Regions from separate parts of the Homo sapiens genome. Here all the other regions are linked to region 1. Evidence: promoter capture Hi-C in 16 types of primary human blood cells and fetal thymus (Javierre and others, 2016). All regions are on one chromosome and are shown on one strand. Each heading gives the region's core, a stretch centred on a gene start or on the middle of the fragment in contact. The rest is flanking DNA. Distances are from core to core; before and after follow the strand shown.

Evidence for each region. Contacts are between HindIII fragments. The CHiCAGO score rates a contact against its expected background, and 5 or more counts as called.
Region 2: a fragment that was not itself captured here is called in contact with the fragment with the promoter of SH3KBP1 in region 1 in 4 of 17 cell types (total CD4 T cells, naive CD8 T cells, naive CD4 T cells and 1 more); the score reaches 6.6 in total CD4 T cells.
Region 3: a fragment that was not itself captured here is called in contact with the fragment with the promoter of SH3KBP1 in region 1 in 6 of 17 cell types (non-activated CD4 T cells, total CD8 T cells, activated CD4 T cells and 3 more); the score reaches 7.9 in non-activated CD4 T cells.
Region 4: a contact is called between a fragment that was not itself captured here and the fragment with the promoter of SH3KBP1 in region 1, in 17 of 17 cell types (non-activated CD4 T cells, activated CD4 T cells, naive CD4 T cells and 14 more). The highest score is 18.8, in non-activated CD4 T cells.
Region 5: a fragment that was not itself captured here is called in contact with the fragment with the promoter of SH3KBP1 in region 1 in 16 of 17 cell types (activated CD4 T cells, naive CD4 T cells, non-activated CD4 T cells and 13 more); the score reaches 16.1 in activated CD4 T cells.
Region 6: a contact is called between a fragment that was not itself captured here and the fragment with the promoter of SH3KBP1 in region 1, in 15 of 17 cell types (activated CD4 T cells, naive CD8 T cells, non-activated CD4 T cells and 12 more). The highest score is 23.4, in activated CD4 T cells.
Region 7: a contact is called between a fragment that was not itself captured here and the fragment with the promoter of SH3KBP1 in region 1, in 15 of 17 cell types (activated CD4 T cells, non-activated CD4 T cells, naive CD4 T cells and 12 more). The highest score is 20.7, in activated CD4 T cells.

What each region holds. Positions count from the first base shown.
Region 1 is chrX:19,885,640-19,890,002 of GRCh38, forward strand. SH3KBP1 (SH3 domain containing kinase binding protein 1) reads right to left here and starts at 1,961. Exons shown (of 18, transcript NM_031892.3): 1 at 1,668-1,961. The coding sequence starts at 1,671. RefSeq lists silencers at 1,363-1,502, 1,983-2,052, 2,113-2,412. The HindIII fragment of the contact is 9,463 bases long and covers 1-4,363 here.
Region 2 is chrX:19,385,688-19,390,050 of GRCh38, forward strand. The region is part of intron 18 of MAP3K15 (mitogen-activated protein kinase kinase kinase 15); the gene reads right to left. Among named protein-coding and RNA genes, the nearest start is that of PDHA1, 44 kb to the left of the region's middle. The HindIII fragment of the contact is 8,970 bases long and covers 1-4,363 here.
Region 3 is chrX:19,523,951-19,528,313 of GRCh38, forward strand. No RefSeq gene overlaps it. Among named protein-coding and RNA genes, the nearest start is that of MAP3K15, 11 kb to the left of the region's middle. The HindIII fragment of the contact is 7,748 bases long and covers 1-4,363 here.
Region 4 is chrX:19,544,046-19,548,408 of GRCh38, forward strand. SH3KBP1 (SH3 domain containing kinase binding protein 1) reads right to left here. Exons shown (of 18, transcript NM_031892.3): 15 at 1,877-2,005. Among named protein-coding and RNA genes, the nearest start is that of MAP3K15, 31 kb to the left of the region's middle. The HindIII fragment of the contact is 3,713 bases long and covers 1-3,653 here.
Region 5 is chrX:19,562,299-19,566,661 of GRCh38, forward strand. The region is part of intron 13 of SH3KBP1 (SH3 domain containing kinase binding protein 1); the gene reads right to left. Among named protein-coding and RNA genes, the nearest start is that of MAP3K15, 49 kb to the left of the region's middle. The HindIII fragment of the contact is 4,351 bases long and covers 1-3,985 here.
Region 6 is chrX:19,609,075-19,613,437 of GRCh38, forward strand. All of the region lies in intron 8 of SH3KBP1 (SH3 domain containing kinase binding protein 1), which reads right to left. Among named protein-coding and RNA genes, the nearest start is that of MAP3K15, 96 kb to the left of the region's middle. The HindIII fragment of the contact is 5,933 bases long and covers 1-4,363 here.
Region 7 is chrX:19,627,596-19,631,958 of GRCh38, forward strand. It overlaps SH3KBP1 (SH3 domain containing kinase binding protein 1), which reads right to left. Exons shown (of 18, transcript NM_031892.3): 8 at 4,269-4,363. It overlaps LOC124905255 (a long non-coding RNA gene), which reads left to right and starts at 3,935. Exons shown (of 2, transcript XR_007068406.1): 1 at 3,935-4,246. The HindIII fragment of the contact is 4,373 bases long and covers 1-4,176 here.

The DNA.
Region 1 (4,363 bases), core at 711-3,210:
ATTTGGATTAACTTCTTTTTGTGCATAACCCTCTCGGTGACCCACCCAAAATGAAAGGTGATCAAAACAGAATTTTTGGTTACCTCGGGAGAAATTAACCCATTACTAAAGTGGCCTGTAAGGTTTAAAGTATATACTTCTGCCAATGAACTAAATCATCTTATGGGCCAAAGCAAAACAAGAGTGAGCTAAGTGTTCTGTCCCCAGCAGAGGAGGAGGATTTCATGCCCCTCATTCATTCATTCAACAAATATTTAGGTCCTGCTCTGTGCCACACACCAAAAGTGCTGAGCAAACTATGCAACACTGTGCTGTCCCTATGGTCACAGAGCTTACAGTAGAGGAGATAACTGTTACGCACAAATATGTAATACTGCTACGAAAAAAAAAGGTGTTGTATGAGAAAATGGAACAGGAACCAATTTAGACTACAGGTGGGAGAGAAGGGCACTGTGAAAAAAGTGACATTTAAGCCAAGGGGACAACAGATCACCACTACTTAGAAAAGGAAAACCTTTTTTGGCAAATGACCACAAATGGGATTTTAACTTTGCCTGTCAACAACGGACTGGGTTAAACCTCCTCTTTTCCAATCCTTCAGGCTTTCTGAACATCCTGACTAGTGTACTGGAATCCTATTACCTGAACACAGAAAGGTCTCACTTTATTATGATTTATTATTATCTGCAGCCTTCCTATGCCTGGCCTAGGAACATCCAAAAATAATCTGCCAGAGGCTGAAAAACAGAAGCTGGCTGTCAGCAAGAACATTACCTGGGTAGACCAAACATTTAATAGCCCAAGTAATCATAAGTGCCTTGCCAATAAAGTGGCAGCTTCTCTGGGCAGCAAGGTGGTTCCAATGCTCCGGGGTCTAAATCAAATGGGACCCAGGGGGTTCAAAGGTTAGTTGGCTACTTCGAACTGATGTTTACTCAGTAAATCAAAGACCGGATCACCATTTCCAGGTCCCAGACCCTGAAGACTTAAAGGACAGTATGGGAAGTGGCCTTTTAGCATCACGGAGCAGAGAGCTCGCCAGGCTGGAGGAAGGCAGCAGCGAAAGGGTCGGGGCCGGGAGGAAGGGGGGCGCAAGGAGAGGAGCGTCAGGTGCTCTGGACCCCGGGACTGCGAGCCAGACCAGGAACTGGGGCGTTTCCCGCCCCACCCCCCAACCCCTGTCAACCCCCAGCAAAGGCAACCCAGCCCCCTCCAAGACCCCGAGGTTCCAGCTTCCCCCGAGACAGGACCAGGAAGACACCAGCAGCCCCGCGCAGGGCCGGAGCCCACCAGGTCCGGGTGCCCGTGTCCGCAGCGCAGAGGAGGGCGCGCTCGGGTGCAAAAATGGCCAAGACAAAACTCTCCCCGCCCACCCGAAAAACCAACCACACCCCCTGCATCCCTCAGCCCGAGCCGCCCGGGGCCAGCCCCCGTGATCGTCTGCTCAGGCCCCCGCGGGTTCCCGTCGGCGCCGCGCGCGGGCTCGGCGGGCACACGGGCGCAAGTGGGAGTGAATGGGGGTGCGCGAGGCAGGCGAGGGCGCCCACCGCGGTGTCCCCCGTCCGGACCCTGCCCCCGGGGCGCCCTCCCGGGCTCCGCGGTTCTGGGACTGGCGCGCCGCCCTCAAGGCTGAAGTGGACGCCCGGACGCGGGCGGCCCCCACTCACCCATTGGCGTCGAGCCGGGCCGGGCCGCCGAGGCAGCGTGAAAGTTGGCGGAGGCGGGCGTGGGGGTTGGGGCGCCGGGATCGGGGCGCTGGGATCCAGGCGCGAGGGTCCGGACGCGGCGGCGGCTGGGCCGGCTTCTTCCTCAGTGGCGGCGGCGGCGGCTCAGCGCCGCCCGCTGCTGCCTCTGCTGCTGCTGCCGCTGCTGCCCCGGGGCGACTCCTGCTGCTGCTGTTGCATCGCGGCCCAATGCGCCCGGCTGCGCCGGGTTTCCTGCTCCCCGCGAGTGGAAATTGCGAAAAAAAAAAAAAAAAAAAAAAAAAAAAAAAAAAAAAAAAAAAAAAAAACAGCGCCGCCCAGCCCAGCGCCCGGCAGCCGCGGCCGCGCCGCCCGCTCTCCCCTCCTCCTCAGCGCTGCCGCGAGGCTCCTGCAGCTCCGCCTGCCGGGGACGCGCGGCCGCCGGGCGGGGGCGGGGCCGGAGAGGGGCGGGGCCGGGGCCGGGGCCGCGTCGGGGCAGGCGCCGGGGGCGTCCCTGCGGCTGAGGGGCTTGGGCGCCCTCCTCACCGCCCGCGCCAGAGGCACCCCTCTCCGCGCGGCTGCCACCCACCCGCAGCGGCTGGGCTGACGCCCCGGGAAGTGCCGCGAGACTCCTCGAGACCGGAGGAGAGGGGCTTCTTGGGGGAGGGGCGTGGGAGTGCAGGGGCACGTGGAGAAGGAGGAGAAGGGGGCTGAGCGGGAGGGGGCGACAAGAGGTGGAGGACGGGCTGGGGATGGAGACCAGGGCAGGCCCGGGGCCAAACGCCTGACCAGGGTGATGGCAGGTGGCCCTGGGGCATCGAGGCAATCTGGAATGAGTTTTCCCGGGGGGCTGTTGGAGGGGAAGGAAAAGGGTCCCTTGGAAGGGAGAGAAACGCGGCGTCCCTTCGGTGGGGCGTGGGAACGCAGGCAGGCCAGGTGCGAGTTCCGCACAGAGGAGGCGGTGGCACTGACGTGGGGAAAAACGGGCGAAGGACGCAGCGGGGCCGAGGGGACGCATCGCCTCGCTGGGACCCGCCTAAGCCCCGCCCCAGTGCCTGGGCCAGGTGCGGTTCGGGTGTTCAGGAATGTTCCCGAGCTCTGACGTTCCCAGGAATCCGCTGAGATGAGGGCTGGCTCCCTCCCTAGCAGGCATTATTGTGCCTTACTGACTCCCAGACCTGGACGGCCGACCCTTGAGTGGGCGCTAAAATGTTAACAGGGAATCCGTGGGCATTCGTGGGCAATTCAGAAGCTCCGTTTTGGGTCCATTCACCACCACACCTTTCGCCATAGATACTCTGCCTGCCACCACATTCCTCTACCGGCCCGTTATTTCCTTTTCCCTTTCCACCATCTGGTGGTAGGAAGCGATAGTGAACTACATGGGAGACATTTAGGCAAAGAGCACGTAAGACAATAGAGAAATTACATCAGTGGCCCCTGGAAATGGAGGAGGCTGAGGGCTAGTGGACTCAAAAGGGACAAATGAAAGCCGACCCCCTACCCAAGAGAGGGGCTGTCTCCATACCTCACCTGTGTTGGCGGGGCAACTCTTGTAAATTGGTTACCGTCCTGGGATTTCTGTAGAAAATTGTTCTTATAACTGTTTCATGAGTTTTTCAAAAAACCTCAAAGTCAGGGTCTTACAAACAAGAGATCAGTAGCATCATCTTTCTAAATACCGTTCATGTGTGTCAAACCGATCGAAATAGGAGACTAATCAAGGGACAAGAGGCCCATCCACACAGAGGCTGCAATTGAAGTCCTAGTGTCATCAATATCAGACTCCTAAAAAAGGGATCAGAGAACACGGAGATTAAGAATGTGAAGGCCGGGCGCGGTGGCTCACGCCTGTAATCCCAGCACTTTGGGAGGCCGAGGCGGGCGGATCACGAGGTCAGGAGATCGAGACCATCCTGGCTAACATGGTGAAACCCGGTCTCTACTAAAAAATACAAAAAATTAGCTGGGTGTTGTGACGGGCGCCTGTAGTCCCAGCTACTCCGGAGGCTGAGGCAAGAGAATGGTGTGAACCCGGGAGGTGGAGCTTGCAGTGAGCCAAGATCGTGCCACTGCACTCCAGACTGGGCGACAGAGCGAGACTCCGTCTCAGAAAAAAAGAAAAGAAAAGAATGTGAAGTGGGCCAGGCACGGTGGCTCACGCCTGTAAACCCAGCACCTTGAGAGGCCGAGGTGGGCGGATCACCTGAGGTCAGGAGTTCAAGACCAGGCTGACCAACATGGCGAGCCCCTCTCTCTACTAAAAATACAAAAATTAGCCAGGCGTGGTGGTGCATGCCTTAGTCCTAACTCCGTGGGAGGCTGAGGCACAAGAATTGTTTGAACCTGGGAGGTGGAGGTTGCAGTGAGCCTAGATGGCGCCACTATACTCCAGCCTGGACGACAGAGCGAAAAACTCCGTCTCAAAAAAAAAAAAAAAAAAAAAGAATGTGAAATGTTGAAGGCAGGGATGATGAATACTCAAATATTCCTCCTCCAGGCACCCTGGTGCCTCACTCATTACATGTCTTGTTATATCATGTTCTAATCAGGGCAATCAAGCCTTCTGATACCATCTTAGAGTTGACAAACACTGAAACTCACAGAGCCTGGATAAACCCTCTGCTACTGGGACATTTTTTTTCCCCCAACCCCAGAAGAACTGGTATGGGGGTCTGCTC
Region 2 (4,363 bases), core at 563-3,062, 500 kb before region 1:
AACTGAGGTTCAGAGAGGCTAAAGGATTCGCTTAGGCTAGAACCCATATCTTCTACCTTCAAGTTCAGAACTACACACCATGACATCACTCATCCATACACTACATCAAGAAGAAGCGCTGCTGGAAAAAAAAAGCTGCCTGAATAAGAGTAGCACGTGTAAGGATTTCCAAAGCCATATTGGAGCATCTTTCCATGTAACTGGAAGGTACAGGGCACTAATGGAAAACTGGGTGCTCCATTTTATTCACTACTGTATTCACAAGGTAACCATCCACTCTCAGAACAGCTAACAGAGAGAGATAAATGCACACAACTATTTCAGATACTCAAGGGAACACTCCCTGGCAGGATGCATGTTGGGTGTGTACATCAGCTAACCCAAAGGCTGGATTCTGTCAAGAAAACCAAGTGAAGATGGCATTGTGGGGCATCTGAATCACGCACAAATCCTGGAAAATTGGGTTTCCTTCAATCTGGCTCTCATAGGCCAGGCACGGTGGCTCACACCTGAATCTCAGCACTTTGGGAGGCCGAAGCAGGTGGATGGCTTGAGGTCAGGAGTTCAAGACCAGCCTGGCCAACATGGTGAAACCCCGTCTCTACTAAAAATACAAAAATTAGCCGGGCATGGTGGCGTGTGCCTGTGGTCCCAGCTACTTGGGAGGCTGAGGCAGGAGAATCGTTTGAACCCGGGTGGTGGAGGTTGTACTGAGCCATGAACGCGCCACTGCACTCCAGCCTGGGCGACAGAGTAAGACTCCATTTCAACAAAACAAACAAACAAACAAAAATCTGGCTCTCTTGGGGCCCCATATGCTCCCTAACCTATATTTCCTCCAAGGTATGCCCTACCACACTGGTCACTGGTCACAGCCCACTACGGCTCTTAGGTACCTACACCAGTGCAGTGGTGCAGAGTTCAGAACAAGGTGACCAAGAGACCCACAGGCACTGACTCAGCCCCCCTAGGGCACAAAATCCACTGGGGACTCCTGGAGAATTGTCCAATAGGATTTTCAGATTACCAGCAAAGAAGACACACAGCAGAAGACACAAGTTTATAACCGAGGCCCAGGGACCTTCTAATCTGATCAAGGGGCTGAGAGAGTTGACAGAGTAGTTTAGGGGGGTGGTGCTGAGACAGCTTCTTTAGAGAGAGCTATGCTGGGCTGCCTACCCTCTCCCAAGTTACAGGATTTGGGGCAGGACTGTCCCCAAAAGGGCGTGGGCCCAGGGCAACTCAAGCCACTCAATACCAACTTATGATCATCACATCTTCCACAGGCCCTTGGAGATACCGTTAGAGCCTAAATTTCAAGATTTCATATTAATCAAGTACAGAAAAGAAAAGTAAGGTACGATTTTCCCATAGTCCAGGGGACTACCCTAGTTGACCTGACCAAGGGATAAGCCTGGTGGAAAGGTGGCGCCACTTGTTCCTAACCCAAAGCCTTTGAAGGGGGCTTCACTGAGCGACTCAGCTCCATGTGTATGTGTTCCTGTAGGTAAATTACACAGTGGACTGGCACCCAAGTGAGCAAAGGTTAACTTCCAGCAGCAGACAGGGGGCTGTAAGGTGTGGGGATACTGCCACACCCTCTCAACAGTGGGCTGAAGCTGCTTGAACTCTGGACACCAGATGGGGGACCCTATTACAGAAATACTGCCTTAGGGTTTATCTTTTATTTGTATTATTTATTTGATTGATTGACTGATTGACAGGGTCTCATTCTGTCGCCCAGGCTGGAGTGCAGTGGCACAATTATGACTCACTGCAGCCTCATTCTCCTGGGCTCAAGTGATTCTCTCACCTCAGCCTCCCGAGTAGCTGAGACTACAAGTGCGCACCACCACACCCAGCTGATTTTTATATTTTTGGTAAAGACGGGGCCTCACTATGTTGGCCAGGCTGGTCTCAAACTCCTGGGCTCAAGCGATCCTCCCACCTCAGCCTCCCAGAGAGCTGGGATTACAGGCGTGCCCAGCATATGGTCTTCTTAAAAGGAATCCTGGGAGTCTCTCTCAGAACCTATTCTGGTTCCAGGGGCTGCCCAATAAAAAAATAAAGAAAAAAGAAAAGGAATTCCTGCTCAAACGCAGTCCTCCACGATCTGAATCCCTCAACAGAAAGAGATGGAAGGAGGAGGTGATGTAAGGGGTAAATAACTGGGAGGAGGGGGCTGTCAGCCAAAGGACAGGCCCCTGCCCACGACACAGGAGTTACATCCAGAGGGAGCCAGCGAGGGAAGATAACTAAACATCAGCCAGGCCCACAGCACGCAAAGCCAGCTTCCAACAGTGCTAGTCAAGTAACAACTTTCCCTGCCCCTGTCCTCTCCTTCCTGCAGCTGGTGATTAGGGAGAAAAAGACAACACCCAGCTCCTGACCACAGGTCGCTGCCTGCAGGGAGACGGGAGAGGGGTCTGACTTTTGAATGAGGACCAGAGCGTTGATCAGTATCAGCCTGAATCTTTTTTTTTGAGACAGGGTCTTGCTCTGTCACCCAGGCTGGAGTGCAGTGGCACAATCGGCTCATGCAACCTCCGCCTCCCGGCTTCAAGCGATGAGTCCTTTTTAATTCCTGAATTCAGACTGTGTGCGCTCCTTCAAGTGTCATTATGACTTTCTCTGTTATGTAAGGGTGGCTGGAAAAGTCAAAGGAAAGAACTCCCGCCCCAGGCAGGATGAAAAGTGGGAGAGAAAAATCCAGTGGCTTTTGTGATTACACCCTTTGAGTCCAATGGGTTCAACACGTTAGTTACACACACAAACTCAGTTCTCTCAAAGGCTCCTTCCAGCTCTAATAACCCATGACTTCTAAGTACAAGCGAGTATTTAATTAGCAAACACTTCAATTGCACTTGCTATGTGCCAGGGACCAGTCAAAGCACTTCATCAGTAACTCACTTTACCCTCATAAAAACCCTATGAGTAGGTACAACGAGCATTTCTATTTTACTTACGAAGAAACTGAGGCACATGGAGGTTAAGTAATATGCCCAAGGTCACACAGCTAGCAAGTGGTTGGGCCAGGATTTGAACCAACGATGTTTGCAGCCAGACGAGAACAGACTTCCTGTCCCGAGTTCTCCCTCTAGGTATCTACCCAAGAAGGCTGAAAACACATGTTCACACACGCTTTGTATGTGAATGTTCACAGCATCATTATTCGCAGTGGCCAAAAAGTAGAAACAATCCCAAATGACTGTTAACTGGTAAACGGATGAACAAAATGTGGTTCTCCACACAATGGAATGCCATTCAGCCATGAACAACAACGAAGTACCCATACACACCACTGCATGGAGGAACTGCAAAAACAGGACTCAACGTGCAAGAAGCTACATGCAAAACCCCACATATTGTATTCATTCCAAGCATATGAATATCCACAACGGGCAAAGCCACACAAACACAACAAAGCAGATGAGTGATGAGCTGGGGCTGGAGTGGGAATGGGGATGAGTACCAAGGGGCACGGGGTCTGCTAGGTCCAGACACTGGATCGTGGTGATGGCTGAGCAACTCAGTAAATTTACTGAAAACCAAAGAATTGAGTACTTCTAATGGGTGCTTTGATGATATGTCAGCTATACCTCGATAAGGCTGCTAAAAAAAAAAAAAAAAAAAAGGCAGGGCTGACCCTGGCTATAACAGCCCTTCCTCCTGTTCTCGCAGGTTCCTATGTGTGGGGCAAACCCTTCAGAGGAACACAGGGAGGGAGGGCTCCAGGCCAGGAAGTTGACTGAAACCCTCTGGCTCTCCTGCCAGGCTGAGCAACCACAGACCCAGAGTTCTGCACCAACCAGCTGAGATTTCCTTACAGAACTGCTCTGTTTTGCAAAGAGCAATTATATGCGGGGGAATTTCCTAACCAAAATGAGACCCCTTCCTTATTATCCCCCAAACACCCCTGCATTCTTTTGCAATGCAAAATCCGTGCCTCCCCAAGCCAATTACTTGGGAAGTGTGATATGCAAGGATGAATTATACATGTGTTTCTTTGTGAGTTTGTTTCCTCCTCAGGGAAGCTAATTATGAGATAAATTGTTGGGGGTTTTATGTCTTCAAATAACTCCTTGTCATATCAGAGCCCCTCTTGCTATGTATTGCCAAGCTAATTGGTGGCTTCCAAAGAGGAGGATACAAGTCATTTTCAATTAGGGTAGTAAAATGCTAAAAGAAAATGAAGTGCTAGTCATACACACATATTCATATACACACATTGACAGATGTATACGTATATTTATACCAGAAACAATGAATGAAAATTCAATGCACTCTTTCTTTGGGAGATTCTGATAGTGTCCCTGGTATAGTATTTTCCCATTTTCAGGCACATGTACCTCCCCTTGTGTTA
Region 3 (4,363 bases), core at 1,389-3,888, 360 kb before region 1:
CCATATGATTTTTTCTCTTTAGCCTGTTGATATGGTGGATTACACTGACTTTCAAACGTTGAGCCAACCTTGCATTCTTGGAATAAATCCCACTTCGTTGTGGCATGTCATTTTTGTTACGCATTGCTGAAGGTGATATGCTAATATTTTATTGAAGATATTTGCATCCAGGTTCATGAGAAATATTGATCTGTAGTTTTGTTTTCATTTTTTTTCGTATTGCCTTTGCCTTGTTTGTATATCGGGGTAATACTAGCCTCATAAAATAGCTTGGGAACTATTCTGTTGTCTTCTCTCTTCTGGAATAGACTGGGTAAAATTGGTGTCACTTCTTCAAATGTTTGGTAGAATTCTCCAGTGAAGTCATTGAGACTTGGAGATTTCTTTTTCAGGGTGTGTTAATTACAAGTTCAATTTTTTCTAATGGTTATATAACTATTCAGATTGTCCATTCTATCTTGGTTAAGTTTTGATAATTTGTGGTTTTCAAGGAATTGGTCCATTTGTTCTAAGATGTTGATGTCATAAAGATGCCCAAGATGTCATAAAGTTGTTCTTATTTACTATACTTTTAATGGCTGCCTTCTCTCTTTTTATCTTTTTCAGTTTTGCTATCTATCCAAGTAAATGTAAATATTCAAGTCTACTGATGAGCCCATCAATGATAGTCTTCATTTCAGTTGCTGTGTTTTTTATTTCTAGCCATTTGATTCTTATAGTTCCCATCTCTGCTGAAATTACCTATCCGATTTTGCATGATGTCTACTTAGGTTGTGAGAGACTTTAACATAGTAATCGGGCTGGTCACGGTGACTCACACCTGTAATCACAGCACTTTGGGAGGCTGAGGCAGGCAGATCGCTTGAGCTCAGGAGTTCGAGACCAGCCTGGGCAGCATGGGAAAACCCCATCTCTACAAAAAAATACAAAAAATTAGCTGGCTGTGGTGATGCATGCCTGTAGTCCCAGCTACTTGGGAGGCTGAGGCAGGAGGATCACTTGAGTCCAGGAGGTTGAGGCTGCAGTCAGCCGTGATCACACCACTGCACTCCAGCATGGGCTACAGAGTGAGACTATATCAAAAAAAAAAAAAAAAAAACTAAAACTAAAACCATAGTGATCATAATTATTTAAAATTCCTGCCTGTAATCCCAGCACTTTGAGAGGCTGAGGCAGGCAAATCACCTGCAGTCAGCAGTTCGAGACTAGCCTGGCCAAAATGGTGAAACCCTGTCTGTACTAAAAATACAAACGAAAAATTAGCCAGGCATGATGGCATGCACCTTTAGTCCCAGCTACTCGGGTGGCTGAGGCAGGAGAATTGCTTGAACCTGGGAGGCAGAGATTGCAGTGAGCCGAGATCACATCATTGCACTCCAGCCTGGGTGACACAGCAAGACTTCATCTAAAATAAATAAAATAAAATAAAATTCTCTCTCTGATACTTTAATAGCAATGCCATATCTAAGTCTGAATCTGATCACTTGTCTCTTCAGAATGCTTTTTCTTTTCTTTTGGCATGCCTTGTAATTTTTTGTTGAAAGGTGGACATTGTATATAGGGCAGCAGATACTAAGATAATAAACCTTTAGTGTGGGACTTTATGTTGATCCAGCCAGGAGTTGGGCTGTGTTGAGATTTGTTTTCCTATGAACATTACAAACTTCAGATTCCTCTAGTGATCTTTTTTTGTCCCCCACCTCTCTTGGCTTTGGGGCTTCCCTTTGTGCTGCTCCCCAACGTCTGTCTCTTGCAGTCTTCCCTGCTATTGTTATTCCTGGAGGCTTGTTAGCATGCTGTTGGGAGATGGATTCTCTAATATTCTAAACTTCAGTCTTTGGAGTGCACAGTGGGCTTGTGTCTCGGGTGTAACTTTCACAGTTGTTTCTGTTTCTCCTCCAGGGACAGAGCTCCCTCCCATTCCCTTCTCCCAGCTGCAGTGGGTATCTACAAGTGTTTTCAGTCTATAGACTTGAAGCCCTTTTCTCTGAAGGTTGAATTGTTTTTAGTTGAGATGAAGAGCTAGAGTTGAGTGCAGTTCCCTCCCCTAGTTGCAATGGTAATTCACCAGGGCCCTCGGACCATGTCTTTCCCCATGCAGAATAGCCTTTTGTTCCTTAAGGGAGAAGGGTCTGAGTAGATTTCTCAGTGGTTCCTGAGCCAGCACCATGAGTTTTCTCTGGATTTCCCCTGATCTTCCCTGTGAGAACCAGGTGGGGTTCCTGGAGGAAAAGCCTGCAGAAGGATGACAGTCTTTCTTAGGAGCTGCACACTCTCAAGCTAGCCCACAGTTGGCTTCCAGAAATTGGTCAAATTTTCTAGCCTGACCTTTCTACCTAGTTCTATGGCATCTGGTGGTTTCTGCCCTTGGTAACCAAATGCTCAGATCCTGTGTCTTGCAGGAAGTGCCTAGCCTCTTTTTTTTTTTTTTTTTTTTTTTTTTTTTGAGACAGGGTCATGCTCTGTCACCCAGGCTGAAATGCAGTGGTGTGATCACGGCTCACTGCAGCCTCAAGGCTCAAGTGATCCTCCTGCATCAGTCTCTCAAGTAGCTGGGACCACAGGCAGGCGACACTACACCTGGCTATTTTTTGTCCCTTTTGTAGAGACGGGGCCTTGACATGTTGCCTAGGCTGATCTTGAACTCATGGGCTGAAGCAATCCTCCCGCCTCGGCCTCCCAAACTGCTGGGATTACAGGTGTGAGCCACCACACCTGGCCCAGATTTTCAAATGGCCATTTGCTCTTTGAACTTAGTTCTCTATTAATTTCCAGTCTGTCCAGACTTTTTCTTGTTGTTAGCACAGGAAGGGATTTCATGCAGCTCTTCCATATCTCTGAGCTGAAACTGGAAGTCCTATCTATTCAACCATATTTGATCTAAAAAAAATGTTAGTTTCACATGTTTCAACCAAATAGACTACGGCATTATTTCTGAGTAGTGCACCTTGTTTTGCTTCAGCCAAGGACAACTAGAGATTTCTGGAAAAGATTGCTGTCAGCTACTCTACACACAACTCACTGGGAATGAGTTGATCCCCCCATGATGGTGGTCTTCAAACTTATGCGTGCATCAGAATTACTGAGAGGACTTGTTAAAACACAGATTGTTGGGTTGCTTTCCAGAATTTCTGATTCAGGAAGTCTGGGACAGGGCGCAAGAATTTTCATTTCTACCAGGTTCCCCAGTGGTGATACTAATGCTGTTCTTTTGGGGATCACATTCTAAGAACCACTGCTCTATGGCTCTTCCTAGAAGCTCAGCGCTTATCTACCTTTCCCACTTACTCATCACTTTGAGGGCAGATGGTTTGCCCTGAGAGGGAGCAATTAGGTTCTCAGCTGACCTCAGAGAAGAATCAAGAGTCAGCAAAGAATTCCCTTTTTTTTTTTGAGACAGAGTCTTGCCGTCACCCAGGCTGGAGTGCAGCCTGCAAGTCACCCAGGCTGGAGTGCGGTGGCATGATCTCAGCTCACTGCAACATCCACCTCCCAAGTTCAGGTGATTCTCATGCCTCAGCCTCCTGAGTAGCTGGAATTACAGGTGTGTGCCACCATGCTGGGCTAATTTTTGTATTTTTTAGTAGAGACAGGACTTGTTGGCCAGGCTGGTCTCAAACTCCTGTCCTCAAGCAATCCACTCGCCTCAGCCTCTCAAAGAGCTGGGATTACAGGCATGTGCCACCATGCCCAGCTAATTTTTCTATTTTTAGGAAAGATGGGGTTTCACCACATTGGCCAGGCTGGTCTCGAACTCCTAGCCTCAAGTGATCCACCTGCCTCGGCCTCCCAAATTGCTGTGATTACAGGCTTGAGCCACCATTTTCAGCCCAGAATTCATTTCTTTTTTTTCCTCCAGAATGAGTATAGGAAAAAAAAAAAAAAAACTTTACTTTCTAAAACAGAGGTAGCCACAGGTTTCTAAGTAGTGACTGGACGTCTTAGAGAAAATGGTGTTCAGATGACATGAACTTGGTTTTGAGAACCATCGTAATGCAAGAAGCACTCTCCTTAGGGTCCGGGTGTTGGCTGAGACTCATATAGAAGTAAAGTGCTCTGAAGGCTTTCTTTGTATCTGTTTCTTTTGCTGTGGAGCTTCCCTACTGCCCCAGTTTTGTACTAAAGTTTTAGTAAAGGTCAAACCGGGCTGCTCAAATGTATAGAATAAATTGCATTTGACATCAGTCACAATTACCAATTCATCTATTCAGTCAACTACATATCAAGTGATTACTATTAATATATATCTGTCAATGTTTTAGGTGCTGGGGATAGAGCAGTGACAGAAAAGTCACTATCCTCAGAGTGGTTTCATTCTAAGGGAGGGGAGATTGAAAACAGAAACAAAGCAAGCAAGGGAAAA
Region 4 (4,363 bases), core at 547-3,046, 340 kb before region 1:
CGCAGGAGCCAAAAGGGGCTTGGCTGGCATGGCGAGGAGGCAGAGTCTGGATTCAGGCTGTGCTAGAGGGAGAGACTGGGCAGAGAAAGCCAAAAGCAGATGGGCCATCATTCCCAGCCTCTCTGCTCGCCTTTTTTCTGCCAAGTTACCATTGAGGAAAAGTGCTCTCTGCTGCCAGGAATAGCGCTCCGCCAGCCTGTGCTTTATCATTAGTAGGAGTCAGAGTAAGAGGGAAGAGGAACTGACATTTCTGGAGCAATGATCACATGCCGGACACCGGCTAGACAATTTGAGCAACGATCGGTTGGCACAAGCATTTTACCAAGCAGAAAACTGAGGCTTAGAGAAGTGGCTGAGTAGTTCCCCAAGACTCATAGGTAATAACTGGCAGAACAGGGGATCAATTCCCTATCAACTGGATCCCTCAAGTCCAGCACTGTGACTGTGGCTGCCTGAGTCTGAAGATTCGCACTCTCCTGTCCTCTCCTTTGCTTGTCATCTATTCCTGGGCTTATGCCTTTTCCTGTTGCCCATCCTGCATCCTTGCGGACCTCCCATACTCCTGTGACCCACCAGTGCCTTTGCACTGACTGACTTCCAGACACTTCTTGAATCAATGCTTCTCTTGGCATTTCCTATATGACACGCTCTCCCGGCCCATTTCGGCTACTGAGCAATTTTAAAGCCCTCACAGAGTATAGGCCACCACCCTCCCTGATCAAATTAGTTCAAGTGGAATTTCTAGAAGCACTGAAGAGCACAACATGACAACTCCGGGGAAGAGAAATAGGCTAATGGGATACAACTGTGTACATCAGAACCACGAAAACCCACTGTCCACCAGTAGATGTCACTGTAGAGACACCCCAGGGATGTCAAATGAAACTATACCTATGGTCACCAGAAAAAACGGGTCTAAATCCAACTTCTGCAGATGGAATCCTTTTATAAAGAAAGAATGCTTTGGTTTTGTGAATAATTACAACTGATCTGTTGTATAGGATCACGTTTTGCTTACTGTATCAGATTTTTAAGAAAATCTATACATGTAAATTCTTAAATCTATGGAGAAGGAAAATTCCACGGTAACCTTTGATTTCTTTGTGCTATTCCTGCTTCAAGTGACTATAGTTTTCTGCTTTTAGACAGAAAGAAGTTGCTAATATTCAGAGAAAATAATTCCAATTGACTTGGTTTTCTTAGTGGGAGAAAATGGAATTTTAAAATCTTGGTTCGTATTCACAGGGAGAGAATTTGTACAAGATGCTCCTCAAAAGTTACATGCAGTAGCTAAAAGTTAAATGTCTTCCTTGTTTCTCATAAACTAATAAAGTATCTATACTACTCTCTGGGCATGGAATAAAATTAAAGTGTTTTTAGACTATAAATTTATCATAGAATGTGACTCCAAATCAATTTTCTTTAAGAGACCACATTAGTTATTTATATTTATGATCTTCCAACTATAATTTGTGACCAGCTTTGAACATAAAAGACAAGATCTGTGGGCAGAGGGCACAGCATTTAATATATTTAATGTCTTCTCTCTAGACGTCTCACGGCTTTTTAAATTGTTCTGGTTGTGGTGATGGTGGTAGTGTGTGAAGGTATTTGTGAACGTGTGTGTGATGGTATGAAGAGGAGATCAAACCACAAGAGAACAACATGGGAAATAAACAACTGAACTTGTATCTCAGGGATTCTGCCTAGTTTCGGAGACTGCAACATGCCTTGGGGATTTTGATGAGTAACAGAATCGCTGTCACTGAAGAATGACAAACACCTGCACTGTTTGTGTATCTTTGTTTGGTTTATAACCCATCATTAGCACATGCATGAAATGACAGGGACACCCTCGCCATGGCTGGTGACTCACTTGGGATATGGTAACAGTCTTGGAAGTTTTCTTTGACGCGTCCACTCCTCTGTGCGCAAGTGAAATGTGTTCCTCCTTATCCTCTTCGGGACTTGGGGAGTCGAAGATATCAGGGCTTGAAAGGGATGACTGATAAAGCCAAAAGAAAATGCTTTTGTCAGAATTACACCTTAGCTGACACCACTTTCGTTAATATAATGCTGTATGCTTTAAAAGCACTCGACACTGCTATTTTGTCTTCTCACGATAACCCTGTGAGGCAAAAAAGTGTGCTGTTATGCACGCGCTCAAGTCACATAGCTGATTAGTGGCAGAACTGCGACTAAGAAGCAAGGTTTCCTAAACCAGGGATCTTGCCACTGATGTCCATCAATCACTTCATCCTTGCAAGCATCCATCGTCCATCCTTTCCTGCTCCTTCCTCTAAACATTTGCTACCATGTGCAAAAGCTGCAGTGAGCTTGTACTGCAGACTTAGTGACATGCCACACAGGATGCCTGCCCTCACAGGGCTGACAGTCTACCAGGGAAGAACACACAGGTCAACAAGAGGCTGCTCTAATCTGCCTCTCCTCCATTCCCTCCTCTTCCTTTTCCTTGACCTTTTCCATGATCACTAAATCTGCTGCATACGGAAGTGCCCTAAAGGATGTGTCTGAGAGAAAACCATTTCCAGGGATAAGGGCTCACCAGGCTTGTGGTCCAGTGACCAGTGTTTCCTCAGCTTGAGAGCACAGCCCTGCTCGCTAGTGCAACAAGCTCATATCTCCTTTGGTACCTGCTGCTAAATCTCTGCCCTCATTATTGCTGACAGTCAACATTCATTTTGGAGTCTGTATGGCTATAGTATATTTACAGAATGGCAGCATCTTTTGGTAAAATATAGGACGACACCCCTGTTCTTTCTGCCTCACTGTGAAGATCACTATAAAGATAAAAAAGCCAGATGAGGCCAGACACAGTGGCTCACGACCGTAATCCCAACACGGGGATTATGAGGCGGGAGGATCTCTTGAGCCCAGGAATTTGGGACCAGCCTGGGCAACATGGCGAAACTCTATCTCTACGAAAAATACAAAAATTGGCCAGGCATGGTGGTGTGCACCTGGAGTCCCAGCTACTCGGGAGGCTGAGGTGGAAGGATCACTTGAGCCCCGGAGGTCGAGGGTGCAGTGAGCCATTGACATTGCACCACTGCACTCCAGCCTGGACAAAAGAGTGGGACCCTGTCTGGAAAAAAAAAAAAAATTCTGGACCAATTCACTGGAATTCACTTGGTCATAGATGATCACTGGGCTAGAATTTCCCTATTTTAGAACAAAGCAAATTAAAATAAGAGTTCCTATAGCAAGGAATCCTTTATAATGAAGAATCTTCCACAGATCTCTTTGAGCAAGCTCATCTTCAGCTTCATCTCTATGCTTTCTACCCTGGTGGTAGAAAAACAGTCCCATTTAAAATCACCACTTGGCGTCATTATAGAAAAATTATACCCAAAAATATCGTATGTTTTCTTCTGTTTACTTAAGGCAGAAACCTAATGCATTTTAGGGAATTTTTAAGCAAATTTTTCAATTTAACAGGTTTTATTTGTTAATCTTCATTTAATCTGAAAATCCAATTACCTAGAATAACGTTTCCCCCACCACCAAGCCTTCTTATTAATCTAGGCTTAACGCTTAGCCACCATACCATGCCTGAATCCTTTCATTTTGAGATTTTATTCAAAAAGCCAGTTCCCTCCATTACAACCTAGGGTTCATGAGCTGCCAATCAAAGCTTGCTCTTTGAGTCCTATAAACATAAAGAACTTCAGCTAGGGTCAGAGGCCCCAGGCTGGGGAATCATGACTGGTGCATTTCCTCCATCATTTCCCCCAGTGGCCTTTGAGGAATACGCCCATATCCACTAAGCCTCCACTTGCCTATGAAAAATCCACAGGTGCTAACTGAAGAAGAGTAAATAGGAATTCAATGTACACATCCAAGTAGGGATGAATGGGAATGAAGAGAATATAATATTTATACTTTAAAGCACAAATATATCCTTTTGTTTTAAGTCTGCAAATGAAATCACTTCATATAAAATGCCAAACTTCAAGTCATTGTGCCGTAAGCTTCCTGCAGGCAGTGACCATGTGCTTTTCATTCCAGTTGTATCTTTGGTACCTGGCACAGTGCCGAGCCCATAGGGGATAGATGTCTATAAAGAGTTGTTGAATGAATGAACAACTGTGTAGTCTGAAGGCAGTGAAGATGATATATCCTCACCACATCCCCCAAATACATACGAACTCTCAGGCATGGGATGTATGGACCAAAGGTGGGACAAGAGATGGTAATTTAAACCTTTCTGTAATTCTGGAAGTCACAAGGCTCTCTAGACCTTGAAAAGTTGGGAAGAATTTGGAAGGAAGACAAAAATGATGAAGGATTTACAGAGAAGATAGAGGAGGTAGGATTGAAAAACAAAATATAGAGATACTAA
Region 5 (4,363 bases), core at 560-3,059, 320 kb before region 1:
TAACTGGGCTCTGCCAATCCATGAGCCCACAGCCAGGGGACAGGGGGAGGGGGGCACCTCAAGCCAAATAAATGCCATGTGAGATCTGAGAGCTGAACATCACCTGTTCCCTTGCTTCCACATTCATTTTCAGTTCAGAGACCTCTGTGGTGTATACTGTGGATGCAGCAAAGGTCACTATATAAGTCTCTTTGTTCTATGAGACTACTTTGAATCCACTGGGTGTACCTCCAGATTTGCATTCTTAAATCTGTAGGTACACCCAGTACCTCCAGAATACGGCACTAGAATACGGTCTCAGCATGTAGCAAACATAGAGGCACTCAAGCCATCAGACTGAATGATGAACGAGAGCGCTGGCCACAGAGATGCAGGCGACCACATTACCAGGGGAGGCAGGACATGCTGACTCTGCACATAGGTGAGCATTTGGGGCTGCCTGCAAGTCCACACAGCTACTAGCCTCTGTGACCCTCTCCAAGCCAACAGCCATCTGAATTGATGCTCCCTAAATGTCCCTCCACCTCTCTCAGGTCAGCTATTTTGCAGGCTGGTGGGTATAGAGCACTTGGGTAGGACAGTACTAATTTGCTCTCTGTATATTGGAATAATTCATACCACCAAATGCACTGCTGCAGTGAGGTTCTGCAACATTTGCCATCATGTCCCCACTTTGACGTAATCTCCCCCTGTTTCTATAGCATTTGTGAGGCTTTTCCTACAGGCACTTTCAATGTTTACTGAGTTTGCGCTTATGGGATGTTATGGGGTAAAAGATGTTCGTGAAGACCCTCATAACTAAGCACAAACCCAGCCACCGTGATGGACCACCAAAGGCCAGCAGGACCGCCCTGTGCAAGGTGCACAGGCAGAGGTGAGCACCTCGGTTCTGGTGAGGATCAACATCTTTGACTGAGAAAGTCTAAGTGGAGATGCTCATTTTACACCCAAGATCAGGCCCTTCAAAGGGCCCTGAAGGACCATCTCCTGTAGGACTGGAGGATGCCTTTCGAAATGAGTGCTGGTTGCCAACTTGACCTTGTTTCCTCAGCAGCACACCTCCACTGTGAGCCTGAGAGGCTGGGAACCAGGGGAGGGCTCAAGGGCGATGCAGGGAGAAGGCCATCCACAGAAGCTGTTCTGAATTAGCTACGCCTCTGTAAGTTCGAGGAAGGAACCCAAAATGCTCAGAGGATTGCCTGGGTTAAAAACCCATCAATCAGAAGCGCAACCTGTTTCACTTCCTTTGTATAAAGCGTTTGACCCTCAGCACAATCTCTTTTGCTTTCTGTCATCACACTTGAGAAATGTATAGTGCTTTTCAGCTACTCCTGACAAAAATTTAAGTTTGATCACGATTTGTGTCCCTAGATAGGGACCGGAGCTGCACACGTCCACACATGGGCACCGCAGCCCGTCATATGCAGACTTGACTGTAGACCAGTAGCAACCGTATCTCCTGTTCTTCAGCACAGGTAACATCAACCATGTCCTTGGTCCCAAAGGCTGTGTCTGAAGGTTGCCAGTAAGGAGACAGTGTCTGTAGGAGCCAGCCGTGGCTCTTCAGTGAAAGTTCTCATGTCTGAGCAACTAATCCCGAGAGAGCTGGAAGGCGCGGCTGTTGTTCACACACACGCTCAGCCAGTAGTCAATCTGGAACACTCCAAGTGTCATTCATGGGTTTTTGTTTTTTTTTAATGGCAGGCAGGACACAGTATATCTTGTTTTATTGAACCTGAGCAATTGCTCAATGATCTGACATGCTGCAAGGACCAATAACTGGCTCTCTGGCTCCAAAAGGGGAAGTTTAAAATATGTATTTTAAAAACAGGACAGAAAAACCAATAGCCCCAAGTCAGGAGATCTGAATTTTTCCTCAAAATTTGTATGAGAAACCCTTAGAAGTGATTTATTATCATGAAAGGTAGAAATTGCAAAATAAGGTAAGAATGTAATCACTTGTTTGTAGACATTTGGTGTCACATTCACAAAAATGTTGTGTTAATGGTCGCTATTACAATTGCTCTCTCTTGCTCTCCTGTATAACTTTACCATACAGAGTACAGATTTAGAACTTAGTATTGATCAAATTTGTTATTGTCCTTTTATGTAATACCCGTTTAAACACTGGGTAGTTGATCTTTGGCAAATATCTAATCACAAATCCAATACTCTTTCTATTTGAAATCAGACTCAAATGGTATCATTTCACTTGCTGCAAGCCTTAAGATGGCCCCTCTCCCCTCTCTTCTCTCGCCTCTCTCTCTCTCTCCCCCCCCTTCCTCTTTCTCTCTCACAAAGGTCACAGTCATGTCCTTGGTTGATGTTTAATTACTTCAAATATAATTACTTTTTTGTATATGAAATATTTTCAAACTAGGTTTTATAGAGATTCTCAGGAAATGAGACAGGCCACTCCAGGGAACACAAGTTGCACTTGCAGGGGAAGCCTGTCCTCTTCCTGTTCCTAACACAGACTGGGCTCTCTGGGCCTCGGTGCTATTGACATTTGGGGCTGGGTCATTCTTTGTTGTCTGTGGGGGCTATCCTACACACTGGTGGATGGTTAGCAGCATCCTTGGCCTCTATCCACTAGATGCCAGTAGCATCTCCACCCCCACCCCTATGATGTGACAGTCAAAAATGTCTCCAGACATTGCCAAATGTCCCCTTGGGGAGAGCAGTTGAGAAATGCTGATGTGGACCTAGAAGGTTTGGGCTCATGGGTCAGAGAGACCTGGCTTCAACTCCAATTTTTTTTTTTTTTTTTTTTTTTTTTTGAGGCGAAGTCTCGCTCTTGTCCCCCAGGCTGGAGTGCAGTGGTGCAATCTTGGCTCACTGCAACCTCCGCCTCCCGGGTTCAAGCGATTCTCCTGCCTCAGCCTCCCAAGTAGCTGGGATTACAGGCGCCTACCACCACACCCAGCTAATTTCTGTATTTTTAGTAGAGACAGGGTTTCACCATGTTGGCCAGGCTGGTCTCGAACTCCTGACCTCAGGTGATCTGCCCGCCTTGGCCTCCCAAAGCGCTGGGATTACAGGTGTAAGCCACCGCGCCTGGCCTTCAACTCCAATTTCTTACTAGCCAGATAATCTTGCTCAGTTTCCCCAGCTTGCTTTCTTCCCTGTTCCTTCACTGTAAAAACATGAGTCATTACACATCCTTCATAGGGCTATGGACGGTGAGAAAAAAATAGACAAAACATTTAGTGGGCACCCAGTGAATATTAGTTCTTTCTTTCCTTACTCTTGCTTGCTCTCACTGCTCTTATTTCAACACTAGAACCTCAGGACGATGGAAGAGGGGAGATGAAGGGGGAGGGTTTGTTCTCCACTATATTAGCAGAATGATTCTAACACAAGGATATTCCACACACAGCTCCTGTACTCACACTGTACCTCAACGAGGATTAAAAGTTATAAAGGCATGTTCTACCCCAAACATGCTTACAAAACACTCTTAATCCTTTCTAACGCTTTGGGATTATTGTTTCACCAGGGTTGTAATCAGCTACAGATCAAAGTCCAGGTGGACCTTGATTTTTTAAAATGGTGTACAACAATACACACATTTAACACCCTAAGGGGACGTTTTACATTACAAAATGATTACTAGGTTTTGGAGACCTTTTTTTTTTTTTTTAAGATGGAGTTTTGCTCTTGTTCCCCAGGCTGGAGTACAGTGGTGTGATCTCGGCTCACTGCAACCTTTGTCTCCCGGGTTCAAGCGATTCTCCTGGGCTGAGGTGGGAGGATTGCATGAGCCCAGGAGTTAGAGGCTGCAGTGAGCAATGATTGCACTGTTGCACTCCAGCCTGGGTGACAGAGCAAGACTATCTCAAAACAAAAATACCATTAACTTGAGAAGATATAGCCTTCTAGGATTAATGTCTCTGTGGCAAAGAGAGAGAGAAAACCAAACCTCAGTACTCTATTTCTGGGCTCCCAAATATATGCAACTGTGCTTAGTTTCCACAGCATGAAAAGCTTCTATAGGTGAACCCGCCCCCCCATCAATACCCCCAATATTTCCACACTAGCTCATCAGACTGAAAAACATGTGATTCATATTTTCATGATAGCGATCATAGACATCTCCAGACCCAAAGAATGCAAAGGTCAAAGGTGAATGCTCTTAGCAAGCAAGACAGATTATCCTGTATATTCTGGAGGAGGGAGAATACCTCCCTTCCTATTGACATGAGGGAGGTGACAAGACAGCCTCCTGAGGTCGCACATGACCTTCACCAACCAGCCACCCTGGCTTAAAACAGGGCCCAAATACGAAACTGCGGTGGTAGAACCGGAACTTAGGCTCATTCTGACAATCCCCTTTCATTCACAGCCAATTACTGCTCTGCTC
Region 6 (4,363 bases), core at 1,382-3,881, 280 kb before region 1:
CAAGAGCCTGGCCTTTCTCATGAGCCTAATGGCCTCGTGGTTCTCCTGGGCACATAATCTCATGCCACAAAACCACTTCTAGTTTTTCCCATTTTCAACTGGTTGGAAGTCCCATTTGCTGGAGTTTTATCATATGTCTCACATTTGTCCTCCGAGTCCAATTCCACTTCTACCGCCTGACCCAGGGCTCATCCAGCCTACTGTAAACCTCCTCACTTGGGCAACGCTTCCTGCCCAGTATATATATAATATACACACCACTGTCAAATATAAAATTCCTTGAATAAAATCCCTGTAATCAGTTAATCTCCATCCCACTTCAGGCATCCTGACCCTGAGCCTGCTTTTTGTCCTATAGCAGACTCCCAAGTCTCGTGATCAACAACTTCCAGCTGAAGCCCAAAATGAGAAAAGGCTTTCCAAAAAACAAACAAACAAAAAAACCTGCTGATAACACATAAGGGAAAGCAAGAAGGTGACAGAGAAAGAGAGGAGATCATGTTCAGGGCCCATGGAGAACCCATGGTCTCCACGACACCAGTGGGATTAGAAAAGGGCTCAAGTACCAGATGTGCAGCTGGCCTAAGGCCTTGCTGTAGGGCCCTGGGAGAGCCATGGCTTGTATGGCTCATTTGTACCTTGTTAGATCATACATTCCAGCAAGGTGAGGAGCACATCTGACTTTTCACCATTATACCCCCAGCCATGTACACAATGCCTCATATAATAAGTATTTGTAGAATCAATGCAGACTCTTTCTAGCCCTGAGAGTTCTGCGATCTCCTCCAGTCCAATACTTGAATTACTGTAGAACAGGATGGCCTCTATCTGCCTAAACTCGTGGGAATTCTCTATAAGTTAGCATAAGGCCCACCTCAGGTAGCAAGTAATTCATCACCACCTTCCACTGCCCCAGTGGTATCTGTTACAAAGATAAGCTGACCCCTTAGGGTCTTCCTTAGGGAAGAGAGTGCAGATTTTGGAAATCAGTCCTTAGTCACAGACTATAAATTCTAGCCCCAACTAACAACAAAAAAAACCAAAGACCCTTGAAGTATCAAGTTCAGATTTACCCAGAACAAAACAAGGGTCCAAAAGTCTTTCAACATGAAAGGATGCTTATCTTTCTGGAAAAATGACATTGAGAAGTCCAAGTAGATAGTCTGGTCCTGCCCATGTCACATCACCCCCTGAATACTAGCATCAGTCTTCAAAGAAGGGATTTATGAACAGGAGTGGTGGCAGGATTTGGTGGCTCCTGAGGTTCTTCTGACCCTAGGATGTTACAAACATTATCAATGATAACAGAAAAACTTATGAAGGAAGCTGGGAGTAGAATTTCTTTGACCCTAACTCTTGGAATTAGGTTTCTTCAAAACTCAACTTGAAACTCACCTTTAAGAAACTGACTATGATGAATGCCTTATCTTTTCTCTAATGCTCAGTACAGTGTTAATTTGCAATTAATGATATTCAATTCAATAAACATCTATTAAATGCAAAATATATTTAAGCTCTGTAAGCACCAAACCTTAAACATGCAGATGCAGAGAACATGATCTCTAACCCCAGGGAGCTTAGAGATGTATGGGAAAGACAGACATACAATATTACGCAAGGTCCTTTGGGTAACAGGGATCAAATGAGTGCTCTAGTACCAAAAGAGGAGAGAACCATTAACAGTTTTTGCAATAATCTGAAATCTTTACATGTGTGAATGGTTTGCTTAGCTGAGGACTGGTCTTCCTTCCACATTCATTTCAGGTCATCTGATACAGAACTATGCCCACAAAAGGCATTCAAAAAAAAACTATCTTTTTTTGCAGGGAGACAGAGTCACACTCTCATTGTCTAGGCTGGAGTGCAGTGGCATGATCTCGGCTCACTGCAGCCTTGACTTCTTGGGTTCAAGAGATCCTCCCACATCAGCCTCCTGAGTAGCTTGGACTACAGGCACATGCCACCATGCCTGGCTAATTTTTCATATTTTTAGTAGAGATGGGGTTTCGCCGTGCTGCCCAGGCTGGTCTTGAACTCCTGGGCTCAAGGGATCCATCTGCCTCGGCCTCCCAAAGTGCTGGGATTACAGGTGCGAGCTACCACACCTGGGCTCAAACTTTCTAAACAGTGTAAATCCATGCTTCATCTTAGTCTTATGCAAATAATAACCCAAGAACCTTTTTTGCTTCACATGTGAGAAAAACAATATAGAAAATGTTAATGAGCAAAAGCCCATCCAGAATAACTTTGGTTTTTTTTGTGGTTTTTTTGTTTGTTTTTGTTTTTGCTTTTGTTTTGAGACGCAGTCTCACTCTGTCGCCCAGGCTGGAGTGCAGTGGCGTGATCTCGGCTCACTGCAACCTCCGCCTCCCTGGTTCAAGCAATTCTCCTGCCTCAGCCTCCCAAGTAGCTGGGATTACAGGCATGTACTGCCACACCCGGCTAATTTTTATATTTTTAGTAGAGACAGGGTTTCACCATGTTGGCCAGGCTGGTCTCGAATTCCTGGACTCAGGTGATTCGCCCACCTTGGCCTCCCAAAGTGCTGGGATTATAGGTGTGAGCCACCGAGCCCGGCCCAGAATAACTTTAGATCCCATACACCCCTACGGGAGAAAATGGTACATAATGACATTGTATGTCTCATATTTCCCCTTGGTGATGACTGGCTTGGATGGCCCATCTATATTCTGCTTCTTAAGGAAAACACTAACAGTGCTACTCATTGCATAATTCAAAGAAGAGAAGGGAAGCATGAAGGGAGAACACAATATGTCTAATTGTTCTGATTGGTACAAGAATAAACACAAGGTCCATGGATGAGATAAGTACAGTCAAAAGAGAAAACTGCCAGTGTGATTTAGTGCTACTAGCAGAAGTAGAAAAAAAAAAAAAAAAAAAAAACAAGAAAAATAGCCAAAGAAAAGAGTCTGCTATAAGACAGAAAGTGGGCACAGGGTCAGGATGCCTGGAGTGGGATAGAGATTTACAGAGAAGCAAGGCATTTTTTTCCCCCAGCAATACAAGCTAATTTAAGGGAAATAGGAATAATTTTAACAGCAAAATGAGAAGTGAAAATAAGTCCTCTTCAACAAACCAGACAAAAGAACTAGTCTTTTGATGGCAGAGATGAAGAGACTTGTATGAGGGCTGTGCTTTCGAAAGTATAAAATAGCAGCAAATTCTATTTATTTGTTTGTTTATTTGAGACAGAGGCTGGCTCTGTTGCCCAGGCTGGAGTGCAATGGCATGATCTCGGCTCACTGCAACCTCTGTCTCCCAGGTTCAAGCGATTCTCCTGCGCCAGCCTCCCCAAGTAGCTGGGATTACAGGCACCTGCCACCACGCCTGGTTAATTTTTTTGTATTTTTAGTAGAGATGAGGTTTCATCATGTTGGCCAGGCTGGTCTTGAACTCCTGAACTCAGGTGATCTGCCTGCCTCGGCCTCCCAAAGTGCTGGAATTACAGGCGTGAGCCACAGCGCCTGGCCTCAGTTTATTTACTGAGAACCTAAAATGGCTCTCAAACCTGGCTGCACACTTAGAATCACCTGGGAATTTTAAAAAAAAATGCCAATGGCTGGGCTAGACTTCTAAAATGTGCAGGACAGGAGATGAATCCAGGGGAGAAAAGAAAACCATCATGTCCTTGTGGGGCTCCCAAGCTCAGAGTCTAGTGGGAGAGGCAGACACAGTGAATCAGAATGGCACAGAAACACTGGCAGAAGTGCTAGAATGGATTTACAAACAAGTGGGACCAAGACAAGCTGGGCAGCCTGGAAGCAGAGAACAAGGACAAGAACTGAGGCAATGAGAATGGTCAAGGGCAGACTTGCTGAGCGTAAAGGAAGAGAAGAGGGAGAGAGGAAAGCTGTGCTCATGGAAGAGAATATACAGGAATTAGAGCTTGGAACAAACCCTGCCCCTCCAACATCTACTGAACAGTGATATGAGGTGTGAGGCAAGACAGCACCCACTGAGTGACAGGGGCAGAAAGGAGGGGCAGGTGATCAACCGCTTGTGAGGCCCGACTGCCATCAGGGCGGAAGTGGATGTCCCCAAGGAAGACGGTAGAAGTTGAGTGAAGGCAGGATGGTGAGGCAGTAGCTGACCACTGAGGAGAGAGGTAACGTGGCCCAAGTACTACAATTTGTTTCCAAATCTGGGGCGCTATTAATAAATTACACCAGGACCCCAGGCATAACTCCAGACGACAGTCACCTTCATGGAGTTTTAGACTCTAATACAAATGAGAAAGAGCATTGTAGGCAGGTGAGGGGATGAACTCTGAATGAGGTGGGAGGTAGAAATGAGAAAAGGAGCAGCATGTAGATGACGCTTCCAGAAAGCTGCTGTTTAGACA
Region 7 (4,363 bases), core at 740-3,239, 260 kb before region 1:
TGCCACATTTCCTCCTGGCTTCCAGGGACATACAGAAATAGTTTGGGTCTTTGCACATTATTTCAGGAACTGCAGAGGGCTTATACACACCCACTAAAGGTGTCTGACTCATTTTCTAGAAAGCCACATGAACTGACAATCTGGGGCTAAAAATGAGGGCAAAGCCTGCTCTGTGACTCCTGCTACAGCACAGAAAAGCAGGGCAAAGGGAAACCACCTTCAATGATACCAAAGTAAATGTCAGAGGAATTCGGGGTCTATCAGGAACCTCTACGGCGAACACAGAATTTAGAGAACAGCAGTTCAGGTCTTTCACCTCAACTCCTACATCCAATAAATATGCGTATCAGAATGCATATTAAACAGATCATGGTGAAACCATTCATTTTATAATAGCAATAGTATACAATCATCTCAATGAACTTCTGGGCGATTCCTAACTTAGAGGAAGAGTAACAATCTTCTATAATGTCAGCAGGGTTTTACAGGCTCCGACTCCATTCTTCCCACTTTCAGCAAGCAAAATATTTATGGCATGTTTTCTTTCCAAATTCTTGCTAAAATCTCCTCCACTGTGAACACTTAACTATTTTAGGTGGATTTTTCACCATTTTAACCTACTTAACGTCATGGCATTCCAGCCTCAGCAGCAAACTGGGCTCAGACACAACAGCCCTTCCATTCCCACTTCCAGGGCCCAAGAAAGAGCAGCCAGGGTTGGGTGACAATTCCTAGAATTATGGGTGCCACTGACAGACTCCTCCCTGCCAGAGTAAATCCTCGCAGCAGCCCTGTGAGGTCAGCTTTATGGCCCTTGCTTTATGGCTGAGGAAACTCAGACTCAGAGGGGGTAAGCAACATGCCCGAAAAGACACAGCCAGGAACAGTGGAGCTGGGATTCAAACCCTGGTTCTGGGAGCTGGTAGCCTACATGGCACTTGTCATCTGAACACACCGCTTCCGGCAAACTGGAATGCTAGGTTAAGGCTGGCAGGCATTTTATGGAAATAAAAGTAAAAATCTGCACAAGCACAGGATAGCAAGAGATTTGATTTCCCAGCAGGTTGTATAAAAAAATAATAAAAGCAAAATGATAGAGCACAAAGGATTTTCTTAAGCAGCAAGCTCTAAAATGGGCCCAAGCAGCATGAGTTAAGACTGGCTGTGTGATTAGCTATCCAAAAAAACCCAGCAAACTGGAAGCCGGGTGCAGTGGCTAGGCCGGCTGCAGTGGCTCACGCCTGTAATCACAGCACTTTGGGAGGCTGAGGCGCGTGGATCACTTGAGGTCAGGAGTTCAAGACCAGCCTGAGCAACATGGTAAAACCCCGTCTCTACTAGAAATACAAAAATTAGCCAGGCATGATTTACTGTACAGGCACACACCTGTAATCCCAGCTACTCAGGAGGCTGAGGTGGGAGAATCGCACGAACCTGGGAGGTGGAAGTTGCAGTGAGCCGAGATCACACGATTGCACTCCAGCCTGGGCGACAGAGTGAGACCCTGTCTCAAAAACAAAATAAAGCAAAACAAACAAAAAATAGCAATGTGGGTAGGCAGAGGGCATCTCGGGCATCAGGAACATGGTCTGAGTCAAGTTAGTGAGGACACATAAGCAGGAGGGGGATATACGGGGGGTACCTGCAGAACAGCCACATGGACCAAGGCCACCAAGACAGACTGAGGTCAGGACGGGTGAAGGAGTGCTAGGATCATCTATCTGGATTTTACAATAAAGAAAAAGAAAGTTACTAAAGATTTTGATTGGTGCAGAAGGGTAAGTGAGCACAGCAGTGTTAGAGAATGACAAAAAGAAGGGGCTGAGGTGCTAGGGATGAAGTGGGTAGGGGACACTGGAGTGGGGGGAAACATCCCTCCATCCTTCACTACCCCAGGGCTCTCCTCCAGACCGGGTGCTATGGTGGGTGATAGAGAAAGAAGGATGGAGGAAGCCTGGTCCTTGCTCACCTGGCCTGGACAGATACAGAACAACTCAAGCCTGTGCTTAGCTCTGCAGGGCAGGAAGTGGCAGGGATAGAGAAAGGCTTGTGGGTGGGAGCAGGGTGGGACTAGGAGGACCAAGTGTCAAAATGGTGATATGAGAACTCTAGGCCTGAGGAGTTGGATCAATGTGAAAGTCAGGTCAACAGACCAAGTGTACAGCAGAGATGACAACGTCATGTTTTGCAAATATAATATTAATAGCAGTGCGCTGCTTCAGTTTCTAAATTGCTTTCAAATACGTTAATCTATGAAACCAGAGAAATGGGATGTAACCTTCACAACACTCTTGAAAGCAGCTTGCCACATCTACCTGTTCATTTATCTGTACCATGTGGATGGGACCGATAGATACTCCCTTTCTGACTAAGGTCATTAGAAAAATCACATTAATTTTTATCAGACTGGATCTCAGGCTGGGAGGTTAGGAACAAAATCATCAAGATGAATGTGTTCTCATTATGATATGTATTCAAATGGAAGGACTGGAGTATAATATGTCAAAATAGAAACAGATGTGTGTCTTTTCTCAGACCTCATTAAATATTATTGACATACCAGGTTTTCAACTAAAAAGAGGCTCCCTCTCTTCCAAAGACAAAACAAAAACAGGCTAGTGAGTCCCCCGCTCCCTCCCACTGCAAAGAATAGCAGTTATTTAATTCTCTGGTTGCTTTATCATCAAGGGGGAAAAAAGCACTCTAGCCCTTTCCCAGTATTTCTAAAACCAAATTATCTGTGCTAATTATTACAGCATTCGTATTGTGCTTCACACCCATTTAACAACTTCCTTATTCCGCTTGTTTGGTTACAGGTCTGATTAAAAATAGGAAATGCACTGTGTGTCAGAAAGCAATCTGAAAGAGACAGAAAAGAATCACTTCTGCCTCATTTGCAGAAAACAACAAGGGAAGCATTCTTCCCCTCATTTCCTCCTGCCATGTTCAACACCTACAGAGACATACTGAAATAACTTCAGGGGAGAATACTTTACAGGTAAAAAGATGGACGAGTTCTTGGGTGATCTGCAAAACAGGGAATGATTTGCTGTTCCAGAAAGCATTATATACTCCATACCACTGTTATATGGAGTCCATGAGAGGACCAGCTTTCTCCCTAAAACTCCTGACCTGTGGCAAGCTAGTTAACTTCTTGGGTCATTAGTTCCCTGACATGTTTGGATTTGGCTCTTAAAACACACAATCTCTAAAGCCATGTCTTAGAGGTAACCTCTTGATAACAAAGGCAAATCTTACTGATCACCTTATGGACAAGCCCTGGGGGAGGGGTAGGGCCAGGTGACACCACAGTCTCCACCCTCTCAGTAATGGCCACAGTCGGCGGGACCCTGGGCCTACTCCCACTCTATGCACCTGCAATCTCTTCCCCTTCCCTGCATCCTCCACCCTGCCAAGGCTTCCCAGCCCTGCGAGAGCGAGCGCAGGCAGCCACGATGATCTCCCAAGTCACACTTGTGCTAAGGGAACTGTGCTAAGTTCCCTGTCACTCCCCTGAATACAAGAATAAAACCACCATACACATCTTCAAGACCATTCAGCTTCTTACCATATTTGACCATCACAAAAATGCTGTTCTTCAGAGAAAAAGTCATATATTCTGGGTATTGCTTAAATAATATATCTTTCAACCACCTACTTGGTGAGTACCATTGTGTGAAAGCACACAAAGTACACAGCCAAGGCCCTTGTTCAATTGCATCACTTCACACAGATTTTATAGCTCTCTGTTTATTTACAGGGCTCTGGCTCTAATAATAATAAAATCATTCAATCTTCTTAGCCCAAACGAGACAGGAAAAATTCTCTCAGGCACTCTACCTGTCTTTGATCTGAACAGCAAACATTCTTTAAGCGTTTTCTGCCTGTGAGGCATGACCAGCGTTTTAAAAAAAAACTCCTCCTCGGATACCTCAGGACACAGAGCTCTGCAGCCTGGCTGCTGTGGAGGGCAGGATCTCCAGCCGAGCAGGCTGCCTTTTGGGTTATTCCTTCTGGAACAGACTTTTCTGAAGGACCATGCAAATCTGCAGCTGGTCCTAAGGCAAACAAATCTATTCTCGTCTCAACGAATGCATTCACTTGGATGCTGGGCTTAGCTTGATCAAAAGGAAAGATACAAGATTCTTCCTCACAAGTTCAGGACTGAGAAAACCAAGCTTTCAAGCGCTGAAGCAAAAGCTTATACTGTCCAGTCAACACCCCAAAGCAGTTCGCGATTTAGAAGGTAGGAGACAACCTTTGTTTACCTTATTGATGAGAGTGACTATATCTCCTTCTTTGATTGTCAATTCATCATCATTCTGTGCCTCATATGGAAATATTACTTTGCAGTAATCCTTGC